3 separate regions of the Homo sapiens genome follow, and regions 2 and 3 are each linked to region 1. Evidence: promoter capture Hi-C in 16 types of primary human blood cells and fetal thymus (Javierre and others, 2016). All regions are on one chromosome and are shown on one strand. Each heading gives the region's core, a stretch centred on a gene start or on the middle of the fragment in contact. The rest is flanking DNA. Distances are from core to core; before and after follow the strand shown.

What was found. The method cuts DNA at HindIII sites, captures the fragments that hold promoters and counts their contacts. A CHiCAGO score of 5 or more calls a contact.
Region 2: the fragment with the promoter of ITPRID2 here is called in contact with the fragment with the promoter of SESTD1 in region 1 in 1 of 17 cell types (total B cells); the score reaches 6.1 in total B cells.
Region 3: a contact is called between a fragment that was not itself captured here and the fragment with the promoter of SESTD1 in region 1, in 1 of 17 cell types (M0 macrophages). The highest score is 5.1, in M0 macrophages.

The regions. Positions count from the first base shown.
Region 1 is chr2:179,262,239-179,266,722 of GRCh38, forward strand. SESTD1 (SEC14 and spectrin domain containing 1) reads right to left here and starts at 2,594. Exons shown (of 18, transcript NM_178123.5): 1 at 2,261-2,594. RefSeq lists an enhancer at 1,326-1,395 and silencers at 1,724-1,887, 1,996-2,065, 2,076-2,695. The HindIII fragment of the contact is 5,018 bases long and covers 978-4,484 here.
Region 2 is chr2:181,889,734-181,894,217 of GRCh38, forward strand. It overlaps ITPRID2 (ITPR interacting domain containing 2), which reads left to right and starts at 1,997. Exons shown (of 18, transcript NM_001130445.3): 1 at 1,997-2,544; 2 at 2,882-2,927. The coding sequence starts at 2,334. RefSeq lists silencers at 1,874-2,203, 2,494-2,633. The HindIII fragment of the contact is 2,528 bases long and covers 1,617-4,144 here.
Region 3 is chr2:181,393,129-181,397,612 of GRCh38, forward strand. All of the region lies in intron 4 of LINC01934 (long intergenic non-protein coding RNA 1934), which reads left to right. Among named protein-coding and RNA genes, the nearest start is that of ITGA4, 62 kb to the right of the region's middle. The HindIII fragment of the contact is 235 bases long and covers 1,958-2,192 here.

The DNA of each region.
Region 1 (4,484 bases), core at 1,344-3,843:
AGGTTCTTTTTAGGGTAATAACGTTCTTGGATTAGTGCCGACATTTGCATAATTTTGTGAATATATTAAAACTACTGAATTGCATACTTTAAAAAAGTGAATTCTATGGCATATGAATTATATCTCAAAGAAAACTATTATAAAAATTTAAGTCTCTGCTTTTTTTTCTTTTGAGACAAAGTCTGGCTGTCACCCAGGATGGAATGCAGTGGTCCAATCATGGCTCACTTCTCTGCTTGCTACTTTTTATTAGTAAATATTCTACTTTCCTCAAGAGGTTGCTCATGTTGCTTGTAACAGCTTTAAAAGATCTTTGAAGTTAGCTACTATACAGATGAATGGTATTTTTAGTAAAGTAAAACTACTATAACAGAGAAACTTTCTAAAAATCGGATTAGTTTGGTACAATTTCATTTTTTCAAAAGAAATGTCATTAATACCAAGTTCATTTTTAGAGAGTGGAAAAGCTTCAACAAGTCCTTATAAAAATACATTTTTTAAAAAGGTCAAAATGCAATACTTTGTTTTCTTAATTATTGGACATTTCATTTTCAGATATATCATTAGTAGATTACCTGTTTAAAATGTCATTAAATGCCTAGCAATGAATTAAAACCCAAGTAGATGCAACTTTGTGACCTCTACTTACAACTTTCTACATTCTGCATTCTGTTGTCAGATTCCTAGTCCATCACTAGCTCCTAATCTCTTACATCAATTATTCCATTCAATTCTTATTCACAGGGGCTAAAATGTTTGGTAAATGCAATCAATTCATTTTTCTAATGCTGGGGAAAAACTAGAGTGGGCCCAATTTTTAAGGTTAAATTTAGTCCAGAATGTTTGAATAAATATTCAACAAAACGATTTCCTGGAATTTGGAACATAAAAACAGCCTATAGAGTTGTGAAATGCTTTCTAGGTCCTTGGGGAATTTTTTCACGTATTTAGTCATGGGGCAAAGTATTACGTATAAAAGCTTCCTGGTCCTAGAACAAAGACGTATTTTACTGCTCAAAGCTAAAGGAATTAGTATTGTTAAACTAAAATAGCATACCAATGAAACCAGCTAGGTATTGGCATAACTTAACCAAGGTATGTAACCAAAGATAAATTGTACCTTATTATGCATTCTTCCTTGGGAGGAAAAATTCTCACATTAATAAGATTTAGCCAGCCAAAACAGAAAAAGTATATAGATATATGTGTGTCTGTGTATGTAGGTATGTATAAGGATTAGGATTTTGAGTGGCAATTTAAATTTGACGGTTTGCCAAGCTATGCTGGGATACATAGTGGGCATGCTTGACACAAGCAAAACGTGAAGTAAGAGACGACCTGTCAAACAGCTGCTATCTAGTTACTCCCTCGGCAGCACTCCCAACTTCTCCCGCGATGTCTGTGTGTAAGAGAAAGATGTCAAAGCACCAAGAAAACCACGGGGGCTGTCAGAGCAACAGCCAAGTCCAAACCGTGCATCCCAGGGTGAAATCCCACCCGTACCCTCAAGAGCTGGTCAGACTGCGGCTCTTTTCTAATATGAGTCTACCTAAAATAGAAAAATAAACACAACCACAGACCCTGGCCAACCCTCTCTCTCCTCCCCTTTGTGACTCTCCCAAACGCTGGAGGGATGTTAACCTCTGGCAGGCCCGTGGAAGCCAAGCCCCGCGACCTGAGGAGGCGTCCAGGAGCCTCGGCGCAGCCCTGGGGCCTCGAGCCCGTGTCCTCCACCCACCCGACAGGGCCGGTCACCGGTCACACAAAGGAGCCAGTCGCGGGCGCTGGACGCGGGACTCGCCCGAGAGCAGGGAGCCACATCTGGTTCCTGCACGCTGGCAAAAGAGACCCGCTGGAAAATAAGGACTAACGCCCAAACCTGTTGCACAATTCGGGTCCCTTTCACCCAGAAATGAACAAGGGCGCTCAGGAACGGAAAAGCGCGCGGCCCGGTCTCTGCGGGCCGCGGCCGCACCCGGCAGACGGCGCGGAGGCAAAGGCGGCCCGCAGGGCTCCCACCTCCGGCGCTTTGTCTGTGGCGGCAAGGCGGTGGGGGCGGTCGGGGCGTTGGGAGCAGAGGCGGTGGCGGGGCGGGGGCGCCCCTCCTTCACTGCGTAGCCCCTCCGCCCCGCGGCCCGCGCAGGGGAAGAAAGCCGGGCCCGCTACCGCCGCCGCCGCCGACTGCACCGGCCCAAGCCGGCCACCCGGCCGCGGGGCCTGCGCGCTTCTCCCGCCCGGGCCGAGCGGCGGCCACACTCACCTGGCTGGCGCTGACGCTAGCGGCCGGCGGCTCCGGGGCGTTGGGGAAGACAGGGGAACGCTAGCGAGGTGCGGGCGGAGGCGGAGGGCGCGGCGGGAGGAAGGCGGGCTGGGGGCGGAGCGGGCCCGGGCGGCGGCGGCAGCAGCGGCGACGGCTGCGGCTCCAGTCACTCGCGGCAAATCGCGTCCCGGCCCCTCCGTGCGTCAGGCGGGGAGCGGGGGTGCGGGTGGCCCGGCGACCTCTCGGCACCCGCGGCCCGAGCCGCGTCCGCGCGACCCCGCGCGCGCCCGGGTGACGGCGGTACAGCAACCCGCCCGGCGCGGGAAGGAGGAAGGAGGCGGGGCGGGGCGGGGCGTCCAACCGGGCCTGGGGCTGAGGGCTGGGCGCGAGTGGGACTCTGGCGCTCCGGACGGACCCTGCCGTCCCCACCCCTAGCCGAGGCCCAGGCTCCCCAGGCGGGAGGCAGTCTTGGAGAGTGGAAGGGTACCTAGATCTGGAGTCAGAAGTCTGGGCTTAAGAGAGGGTCCGTTACTTGACACCCTGGCAGGTCATTTATTTCCTCTGGCCTCATGCTGGAGTTCGAAGGTTCGAGTACAAAGTCTCCAAGAGCTGCTCCCAAGTACTCACTGCCAAGCGGTGGTGTGGCTGAAGGATGAAGGCAGATGAAAGGGAAAGGGTTGCGGTGAGGAAGGGCTGGATTCAGGGCATTTGTTTTGCTTTGAGGATCTTTCCACTGGACAGTCCAAAATTAATCCACAATGGGGCTCCCTGATAATGGCTACTTCCCCATTTTTACCAACCTAGTTATTTTTCTCCAAGTATACTGACTTAAGAGTCCTTGTTTTCATTTTATTGCGCAAATCATTTGTATGTCATTTCCTGAATTCAGTTCAAAAGAGTCATCAGCAAATTCACACCAGATCAGAGCAGCTGTGTGGTCCCAATTTCAAGACTTCCATATTATTCACTCAGCCACTCACTTCAGTATCACCTAATTCCGTTGATAAAATCTTCCTATTCCAACAACTAAGCAACCAAATTTCTCTCCACTAAAGTTTTCTGACTTAAAATCCCGTGGATTAATTCTTCCTCTTAATTCTGTGAATATCAGTCTGTCTCCATGACTTCCACCTCTTTGCCACTCTAGGTCAAGCCTTTAACTTCACTGCTGCTTCAGTTCCATATAACTGCCAGAGAGAATGCTCCAAAAAGACAGAGCTAAGCATGAAACGTCCCTCTTTAAAATCATTCAAAGTCTCTCCACCTGGTTGAATCAGGTTCAAACTCATTACCATGGTTTACAAAGCCATTTAAAATCTGATCTATTGACCTCCTTGGCTCCAGCTTCAACTCCTAATATATCTACGTATCACACAAATTCAACAGACTTTGTCTTTGTGCCCTTGTAGTTTTCCCCCACCTGAAATCCATCCCTCATTTAACCAGTTGAACTCCTATTGTCCTTCAAGATAATGAAGATAATGCATCCCTTCCTCCTTGGAATCTTCCCTGACATCATCTCCTTTCACCACATCTGTATCCTTACCCCACACATTTACAATGAATTAAATACTCTTTTTCTCTCTGCTTTCATAAAATCGTCTATCTACAGTATTCCCTATGATAATCTTTAATACTTGCTTTTTTCCTGTTGCTTTGCTTGGTGGCCTTTTCTTCCTAGACTGTGTGTTCCTTAAAAGGACAGGGATTTTGTCTAGTTCATTTTTTTTGCTCCCCAGAACATAGCACAGTGCTCAGCACAAAAAAGGTTCTCTTTAACTGTTTGCTGAAGCGTTGAAATAATTTTCCATCCCAACAAATAGATGTTGAGCATCTACTCAACGAAAAGAAAATACAGGGAAGTCCACAGTCCCAGCCTTTTTTAGCCTTCCGTGGTATTCTGTTTTTCCCTTCTCTACTATGTGGCATTCTCTGCTTATCATTTTAAACTCTCTCCAACTACCATTCACATTCTTTGCTTATCCTAGTAAAACAAGAGCATGCCAAGCAATCCATTATAATAATTCACAAAATATCCCTGCCCTTCCTCTTTACATACTTCTGGTTCCACATTGTATTACCTAGGTGTTAGATAAGAGGTAACTGCTATAATGGAAAAAACATTAAACTATAAATTCAGAGAATGAAATTTGGATGCTACGTTTTCCAATAACTACTGAATGAACTTAGCTCAATCACTTATAGTCATGAGGCTTTACTTCTG
Region 2 (4,484 bases), core at 747-3,246, 2.6 Mb after region 1:
AATAACATGAAGCAAATTTTAAAATAATCAATTTAGGTGTCTCTTTGAAGAACACAGAAAACAGAAACTACCTCAAGAAGACCCATTATCCCTTGTGGGATCAGCATTTAAAAGTGTAAGGGGTGCAAGAATACTGAAGAATGTTCTATCATCTCTCACAATTTACAATCTGGCTAGTAAGCCAAACATACCTTCCAGGGCCAGTCATATTATTTACTCTACAATCCAGTCCCCAAATAAATGACATAGACATGCTGTTGTATATCAGATCCCTGTGGGAGGGGTGTGATCAGGAGTGGTGGAATGGTGGAGTCAAAAAGTTCTGGCTTAGCTAGATTTTGAAAGTCATGAAGGTAGTGGACAGAAAGAACAGGAATGAATTAATTAGCAAAGACAGAGTAGGCAACAGCACTTAGATATGATAGAATTGAAGCTGGGAGCAGCAGAGGAACAGGGTGGATACGTAAGAACCCTGGATAAAACTTTGAAGGCAGCATATTTTGTGGCACTTGACCAGCCCTTTCAATGCTTCTTCTTAGGTACCTTCTTTATTCATTCTCTTTTTCATCTTCCACACAGGCAGCGAGACTCTGACCTATTTTGGAGAGCCATTAAACTGTTAGCTGCATCCTACTACAGGACCCTTGAAGGCTGAGAAAGTCTTATAGGTTCAAAGAAAAGATTTTCTAGTAGTGAAATTTCAAGCCATAGAGATATTAATATCACTGTTCTAACTCCCCTGACATTTGGCAGTACATAGATGAGACTCAGGAGAATATTATGATGGTTCTGGAAAGCTAGTCTGGATTTTGGATTTGATCTTGGGGATATTAGTAAACCATTAGAAGATGTCTTGGAATTGTAAATCTAGAGCAATGCGCTAGAAAGGAGATAGGAAAGAATGAAGGCAGGAAAATCAGTGTGCTATTTTAGTAGTCTATGACTTATGTGTAAATGCCTGGACAAAAACTAGGCACTATTTCATCTCCAGAGCATTCTTCATTCCAAATTCTCCAAAAGTTATGGTTTCCTGTAGCTATCAATGACAATGCACTTAATTACCTTGTAATTCGAATGCTTCCATTAGGAATTTTACTATGCTCTGGATTTTAATTTCAAATGAAAAATAATTCCTTCCTTAAAATATTTTGTCTACGCAAAATATTCTTTTCAATCACGTTAAGATTTTAAAAAGTGTTCTAACTTGTTCTTCAGAGCATAGCCAAGTACAATAAAATATTGGAAGCCTTACTTATATGTATAGTTCAGATGTAACATTTAGGGGAACAATGCTGCTTGATAGGTCTGTCACATTGTGTCTGGTTTTGGATAGAATTTGAGTATTTTTGCTAATGAGAATTTAAACATAACAAAACGGAATGCCAAAGCTGGCTTTAAAAAGTTTTGAACCCTGACATCATTTGTTTCTTGTATCATGCTGTCTCACCAAAATCCAAGCAACTATCTCCACATTGTCCCAATTGTTTCCTCTATTCTCCCTCACCAAAGTCCAACTTCAATGTGAAATTTCCAGATTAAATATCCTTTCACAATTCATTTTCATTCATAACATAAACACGATAAATAACTTTAAGTATGAAAGTAGCACTCCAGGAAGCTTAGTCTTTTGCAGTTTTTACATTTTGGCAACACCAATCAAGCACCTCTTTCCGTCCTTACCCCAATTCCTTGGACACTAAAGAGTCTATATTCAGGCGACTCTTTCAAGTGTATGTTTCAGGGTGCCCAAGCAGACACTTGTTTTCTCGCGGGGGATGTTTTGTGAGACTTGGCCTCCCCACTTACGTTCTATTTTTAGGTGAGGGAGGAGGAGGAGGAGAGGAGGAAAGATTATTAACAAACTAATCTTGCCCATTCCGCGGGCAGTAGTCGGGGGCTGGCCTGCTCCGCGTCGCGCCGGGCGCGCCCCGCCCTACCGCGCCCCGCGCGGCCCCGGCCGGAAGGGGGCGTGGGCCGCCGCCGAGGGAAGGCGCGCAGACGCGCAGCGGCCGGCCTGCTCCGGGCGCGTCAGGCAGGGGGTGGGGAGCAGGGGCCGGGCGGGCGCTCGGCTCCCAGCCGCGCTCCCTCGGGCCACTAGCGCTCCCGCGCGCGCCCGGCCGCCTTCATGTGAAGCGCCGGCCCTCCGCCCCTTCCCTCCCCTTCCTTCCCTCCCTCCCTCCCTGTCCCCTCCTCCTCCTCCTCCTCCTCCGGCGCCCGCTTCAGCTCCCCGGGGCCCCCTGCCCGGCCGGGCGCTGACAGCAAGGGCGGGGGTCCCTGCCGCCGCCTTGTCTCGCGCAGGGTCCGGCTGGGGTAGCGGAGCCCCCAGTGCGGCCATGGACCGGCCCCTGTCGTCGTCGGCGGAGGCGGAGGAGGAACTGGAGTGGCAAGTGGCGAGTCGCAGGAGGAAGGCCTGGGCCAAGTGCCGCAGCTCCTGGCAAGCGTCGGAGACGGAGGATCTGTCCACAGAAGCGACGACGCAGGACGAGGAGGAGGACGAGGAGGAGGACCTCCCCGGCGCGCAGCTGCCGGCAGCGGGGGGAAGAGGTCGGTGCTCCCGGCCGGGCTCCGGGGGGAGGCTGGTGGGCTGGGGAGAGTCTCGTGCGCCCTGGGCGCCTGCCACGAGTTCTGGGAGAGCCTCGGGCACGGTAGGCCGAGGGGAGAGGGGACACTTCCGACCTTCAAACGCGCGCGCTGAACGAGGCGCCCCCAGCGTCAACACAGACAACTGGGTGCCATCCGATTTCCCTGCCAAGGGACACTGAGACGTGTCGCTTAGGCTGCATTTGCCGTGGTAGATTTTCCTACTTGGGAGGGTCCAGGGTGACTCCGCCGTCGTAGTGCTCCTGGGTGGTAACGTGCTGTCCCCTCTCTCTACCCCCAGGAAACGTGCCCAACGAGAAGATCGCGATATGGCTCAAGGACTGCCGGTGAGTGCTCCCTGGTCCGCCCGCGTCCCGGGGGAGATCCGTGCGGACGGGACGCCGGAGCAGAGCCACTCGGGCCGCGTCCCTGTGGGTCCCGCGACCGTTGTAAGCTACAAACCGGAAAGTGAGCCGGCGGATAGCTTCCTCCTCTAAGCGATTAGAAATGGAAGTGCTGTGACCGCTGATTATTTGGTGACCGTGTTGACTTTACAGTTAGGACTTGAGCTACTCACGCATCGTGTTAGCATCAGAGATCAGAAATCCAGAACAGATAATCATGCCATATTTGTTCTGTTTTTATTTGAAAGAATTCTCACATCTCGAACAGGATATTTTGTTTTGCTTTAGTTTTGGCATCTGTACAACTGGCACGGAATCATTTTCCTTTCAAATGTGTTTTAGACGAGTTTAATTTACCTAACTACACTAAATGGGCTTTAATTTTGTTTCTGTTTGGGGAGCTATTAAAACTAGCTAACTTTGTACTTATAGTTTACTTCTTGAACATGGAATTGTCAGATGGCACTGGAATTCTCAGGGAATAGAACTTTTAAAAGCATTCAGACTGCATAAATCTGTTTAATTACATGCTTTGGCAACTGGTACAAAAATGTTTGATAAAATACAGAGGAGATGAATCATGTTGCACGTAAATCTGACTACAGCAAAATGTACTTGTTTCTTATTCCACTTTGCTAGTTGTAAAATCAGGAATGTAGCCTTTAAACTTTTGTTGGTGTTTGCTTTCGAGCATATTTTTGCTTTCTCAATTTAGATTTTCTTAATATTTTGTTCAAATATTAGAGTTAGGGTAGTTTGTTTTGTTTTGTTGTGGAAAGTGATTCATATGCCAGTTTGCCTCCTCTAAAGACAGACAAGATATTGGCTACCATGATATTAATGCCTTGTTTTGATGAATCGACTGGAACCTTATTGAACACTCTTTATTACAGAACTCGTACCCTTTATTGGAAGTGTCATAGACCCTTCTGAAATATGATGACATATATGGAATAACTTCTGTTTAAAGATGCACAGAGGCAAATACACTGCTTGAAGTCCTTGGACCCCAGATTTACAATCTAGCTGTAAATCAATCTCCCAGTTTTCAGATAAGCCTTAGATATTAGATACTTCACTCAAAGTATGGATCAAGAAATTGTATTAATGTGCTATTGGTTCATTTAATTGTTAAATACTAAAATAGTCTATAATGTAAAAGCTTGAAATTTTGAATGTACATGTTCAAGACCTTTTGGGTGAGATCTGATAAAACTAGTATCTTTCAGGTTTCCACTTAGAAATGTGTTTGAGAAGTTGTTTTGTAACTTTTACTTAAGTCCTTTAAAGCCTCCAATCTGACTCTTTATTTAAATACAGTCCTAAGTACAGTATTGGCTTACTTTAGGTTTCTTAAAATAGGCTTAGCATTACAAATACATTTATAATGTTTTATTGTTTAAATTCAAGTGCATATTCAAAAGAATTTTAAAAATTAAGAACAAGAGAAGAATCACACTATAGTTTAATGACATATAGGATTTAAGATTGTATAAGAGA
Region 3 (4,484 bases), core at 825-3,324, 2.1 Mb after region 1:
TATAAAAATAATTTTTACTTGTATGCTAACTTTGTTCTTTATAAATTATATCAAAATAAATTCTATATAAATTAAATATAAGATCTAACATTTTTCAGGCTTTTAACTGTTCAGCTTCATTTGTTGAAGTAATCAAAATAACAACTAGTTTTAAAAATAGTAGTATCCAAAGAAAACAGACATTATCTGTTGAATAAGCTTATACCTCCTCTACCAGTTAGAAATATTAAAATTATATATTGATTCATATATATACTTGAGTCTCTTTCTGGATGCTTTATCATGGATCTCTCCCGTAATTCACTATCACTTTTTTAAATCATTACAGTATAAAAGTACATTTTAATATCTTAAAAGCCCCCCTCTGAACGTGGTTTGTAATTCATGAAGAGCTTTTCAATAATCAGTGCCCAACCTACTTCCTCCCTGATGATCTCATTCAGGCTCATGTCCATAGCAACAACTTCCTATTTATATCTCCAGGCCACATCTCTCCTGTGAGCCTTAAACTCTATTACCCACTGGAAGGTTGAACATGTCTCTGTTTCAACTGGTCAAAACTGAGCCCTTGAATATTTTTCCCAAGTCTCCTCCTCCTCCAGTCTTCTTTATTCAAATAAAGGGCACTATACCAGCTAATCAGATACCAAAATGAAAGTGAAAGTTAACATCATTGTAGCCAATCTTTACATGAGAGTAAAAATGGTTAAATTCTTGTAATAGAAAATTAAAATGGGGCTGGGCACGGTGGCTCACACCTGTAATCCCAGCACTTTGGGAGGCCGAGGCAGGCGGATCACGAGGTCAGGAGATCGAGACCATCCTGGCTAACAGGATGAAACCCCGTCTCTACTAAAAATACAAAAAAATTAGCCAGGTATTGTGGCGGACGCCTGCAGTCCCAGCTACTAGGGCGGCTGAGGTAGGAGAATGGCGTGAACCTGGGCGGCAGAGCTTGCAGCGAGCCGAGATCACGCCACTGCACTCCAGCCTGGGCAACAGAGCGAGGCTCTGTCTCAAAAAAAAAAAACAAAAAAAAAATTAAAGTGGGAAATTTGGCTTTTGGGGAGGCACAGTGTGGTTACATCTGCACTGCATCTATGATGTCAAAATCGGTACCTGGTTTAGCATGTGAACAAGGAGTGCTAAAAAAAAAAAAAAAAAAAAAGTTAAGGACCATTGATCCTGTGGAGCATTTCAAAAATTTATTTTTTTATTTATAGCAGGGGGTATGTGTCTTCAGCCTCTTTCTCAAAGTTATTGTGGTTTCCTGCTAGTTTGGGGGTGTTAACAATGCTATTAAGTCTGCCCATGAGTGTACTATTACACTTCTACATGTCTCATAAACAGCATTTTTTTCTTGAGAATATTTTATGTATTTTCCCATATATTTTTTAAAATCTAAATATGTAGTTGTGATTTCTAAGAAGTAAATGCAAATATTAATAATCATATATTAAAATAAGATTAACTTCTAATTTTTACTATTGTTAGACTGATGGTTTAAAATATAGCAACTTAATAAAATGTAAAATCAATAAAATAATATAAGGTGATTTTCAGAAAAACCTTAGCTGTATGTGGAACAAATTATGTAAAAAACCTTAGCTGTATGTGGAACAAATTATGTAATTGCATCACCACATTGCTCTATACCCAGCAGGAGGACTTATATAGACTGCACCATCTGATCTTCCTTGCACTTTTACTTCCAGTTGGTTTCATTCAATGACAGGGACCAGGTAGATATCAGAGAGCAGAAGTGGAGAGAGACACACAGACAGAGAGACAAACAGATAGATGTGTGTCTCTAACCCTACTACCACTGCTGGCAAGTTTTGATATTGAGTACATTGAACAATCTTAGCTCTGTTAGTTGGTCCATTTCCTGCTACCTAACTGTCGTCTGGCTGTAACATTGCCATACCTTCACCCCTGCAGGTCTTGAGGGGGTAAAAGCTTTTCACAGTTGCTACCCTGAGCTGCTTCACCATTCTTTGCTGGTTTCCACAATCCTGCCACCCTCCGTAAATGTTCTCTTCATTAAAATGTCTCCCATCACTTCTGTGAGAAAGCCTTATGTTTCCTGCCCTGACCTTGACTGATACAGGCTCCAACTTTGGTTCTTCTTCAGTTGTACTCATAAAGGGAAACAGTATAGCTCATGAACTCTACCATGACGGTCCCTACAAAGCTTTTCATAATCATTTACTACTCGTATTATTTTATAATTTCAGTTCAATTCAAACTTCCTTTGGGTGGTTTTCAATAAACCAACCACTAAGCAAATACTAGGATGATAAAGAGGAAGATAAGACAGAGTACGTTCCTCAAGAAGCTTGGTTTTTTCAGCAGACAATTCATAAACACTTGAAAAAGTTAAACAAGCTTATGTATGACAAAACGTTACAAATGAACACTAACAGACCATAAATATAATTTGAAACTAGAGAAGAAAACAATGACATAGTCTAACAGGAAAGGCTTTGTTGAGGAGGTGGGACTTTAATTGGATCTTGGGGGATAGAGATTCTTCAGTGTGATTCCACCATTGAATATTTCTTATCTTTTTTGTCACACAAAGAGTAATGTTTTTTTTCATTTAGATCCCTCTTTCAATGTCCTAGAGCCATTTATGGGCCACTTGAAATAGTGTCTACACATGACAGATAAATTGTTTTTCTTGCCTGACCTACCCTGAGTCAGGATAGGCTTTGAGAAGCGTAACAATTCCTTTGCTTATCCATCTGATGCACATTGTGCCACACTGTGTCAGGTATCAGGAAGATTTGCATGAGAAGGAGTCCAGAGAAGTTCTAGATGATCACTTTTGGATTTGCCAAAAGTGACCCAAAAAGACTCCATGGGGCAAGCAATAACCCAGGCTCTGAGGTCGCTGGATCTGTATCTAATTTCCAACTCCTCCAGCTACTGGTCATGTGATCTTGAGAAAATTACTTAATCTTTGTTGTCTCAGTTTCCTCTTTTATAAAATTGTGGTTTGCATGTCTTCTCAGCTTGTATCAAGAGAATTTGCTAAGCATATACAATAGCAAAGTCATAATTTGTGACATATTTTAGATCAACTAGCAAGCCTCAAAACAATTTCACTTTAACATTCATTTTATAAGTATTTCAGGATAATTTTTCATATAGAAAAGCAAAGCTTCACTGAAACATAGTCTTTTGGTGAGTCATACCTTAAATTTTAGGTTTATGTAAAAGGGGTATAATAATTGAGCTTTTGTCAATCCTTTTAATCTTTTAAATTTGTATTCCCTTGCGTAATGGCCTCAAACGACTTTTTAGTTAATAAATAAGCAATTGTGGTTTCAAAATACCAGTTGAATTCAGAGGCATAATTAATTACTGAAATTGAAAAAGAGTCCGTTAAATTACTAATTACAATGTAGAAATAGTCCTTAAGTCATGAATTCTGATTTTTTTAAAATTTCATTTATATTCCCTCTCTTTCATTTAATATTCTTCTCAAAAACAGCTTCTACTTTAAAAACAAAACAGTTTTAGATATGAAGGCCATATTTACGGAACCCAAATTAATGAGGAATTTCCATAACCTAAGATGGCATGGTCATTAAGAATAAAACCCCTAAAATTTTTACCTTGTGCCTGACCACAGAAAGTGATGTAAAGTACAATTATAGCCAGAAGAATTCTCCAACCCAAATGTGCTTGTTAAGTTTGTTTATCCAGTTGCACCACATGCCACACAGCTGTGAACTATTTAGAGGTTTACTAGACACTCCTGTCTAGGAATTGTTTCTTTCTTTCTGATTTTCTGCCTCATATCACACCGGGGACAATTTAATGTGACTACATTAAGTGTTTTCTGAACTGCTGCTATTTCTAAATAGTTCTGATGTCTCTGGGGCATACTTTCCTCAAAAGCCAGATTTTCTTAAGACTTTGCTTCAATTAATTTAGTACATTGAGCGTATAACTTGATATAAACAACAACAAATATTATTTTGTCTGACAAAGTCTAGGTTCTCAGGCTGAAACAGGGAGCAAGGCACACAGATGACTCTTTTCATGGGGAGTACATTATGGCGGGGAAGACCTAGAAGCAATAAATAAACAAACAATTAAGAAAAAAATATTCCAGAAAGACATGATATGGAAATAAGAGTTGGCTGGGCAACTACTTTCCTGGAAGATCTTTTACAAGTCTACTCTCTGAGGAAGCTAGAAGAGCATAATTCTCATCAAGAGGTAGCAAATCCCTATCATGCCTCCTTTTGCCTGCTGGAACTTTAGAGGGAGAAAGAGGAACAGGCATGACTGAAGACAATAAGTAAAAGAGCCAACAAGAAGGAATACAGAGCCAAACGTGGCCAGATGAACATGTGCCCACGGGAATATGTGGGCATACTGAGTGGCCAGCGCCACCACAGAGGCTCTAAGCCTATCAAGCTAAAGTCACGTACCTCAAGCCCTCTTCTTTACAGATGGCATCTAAAGAA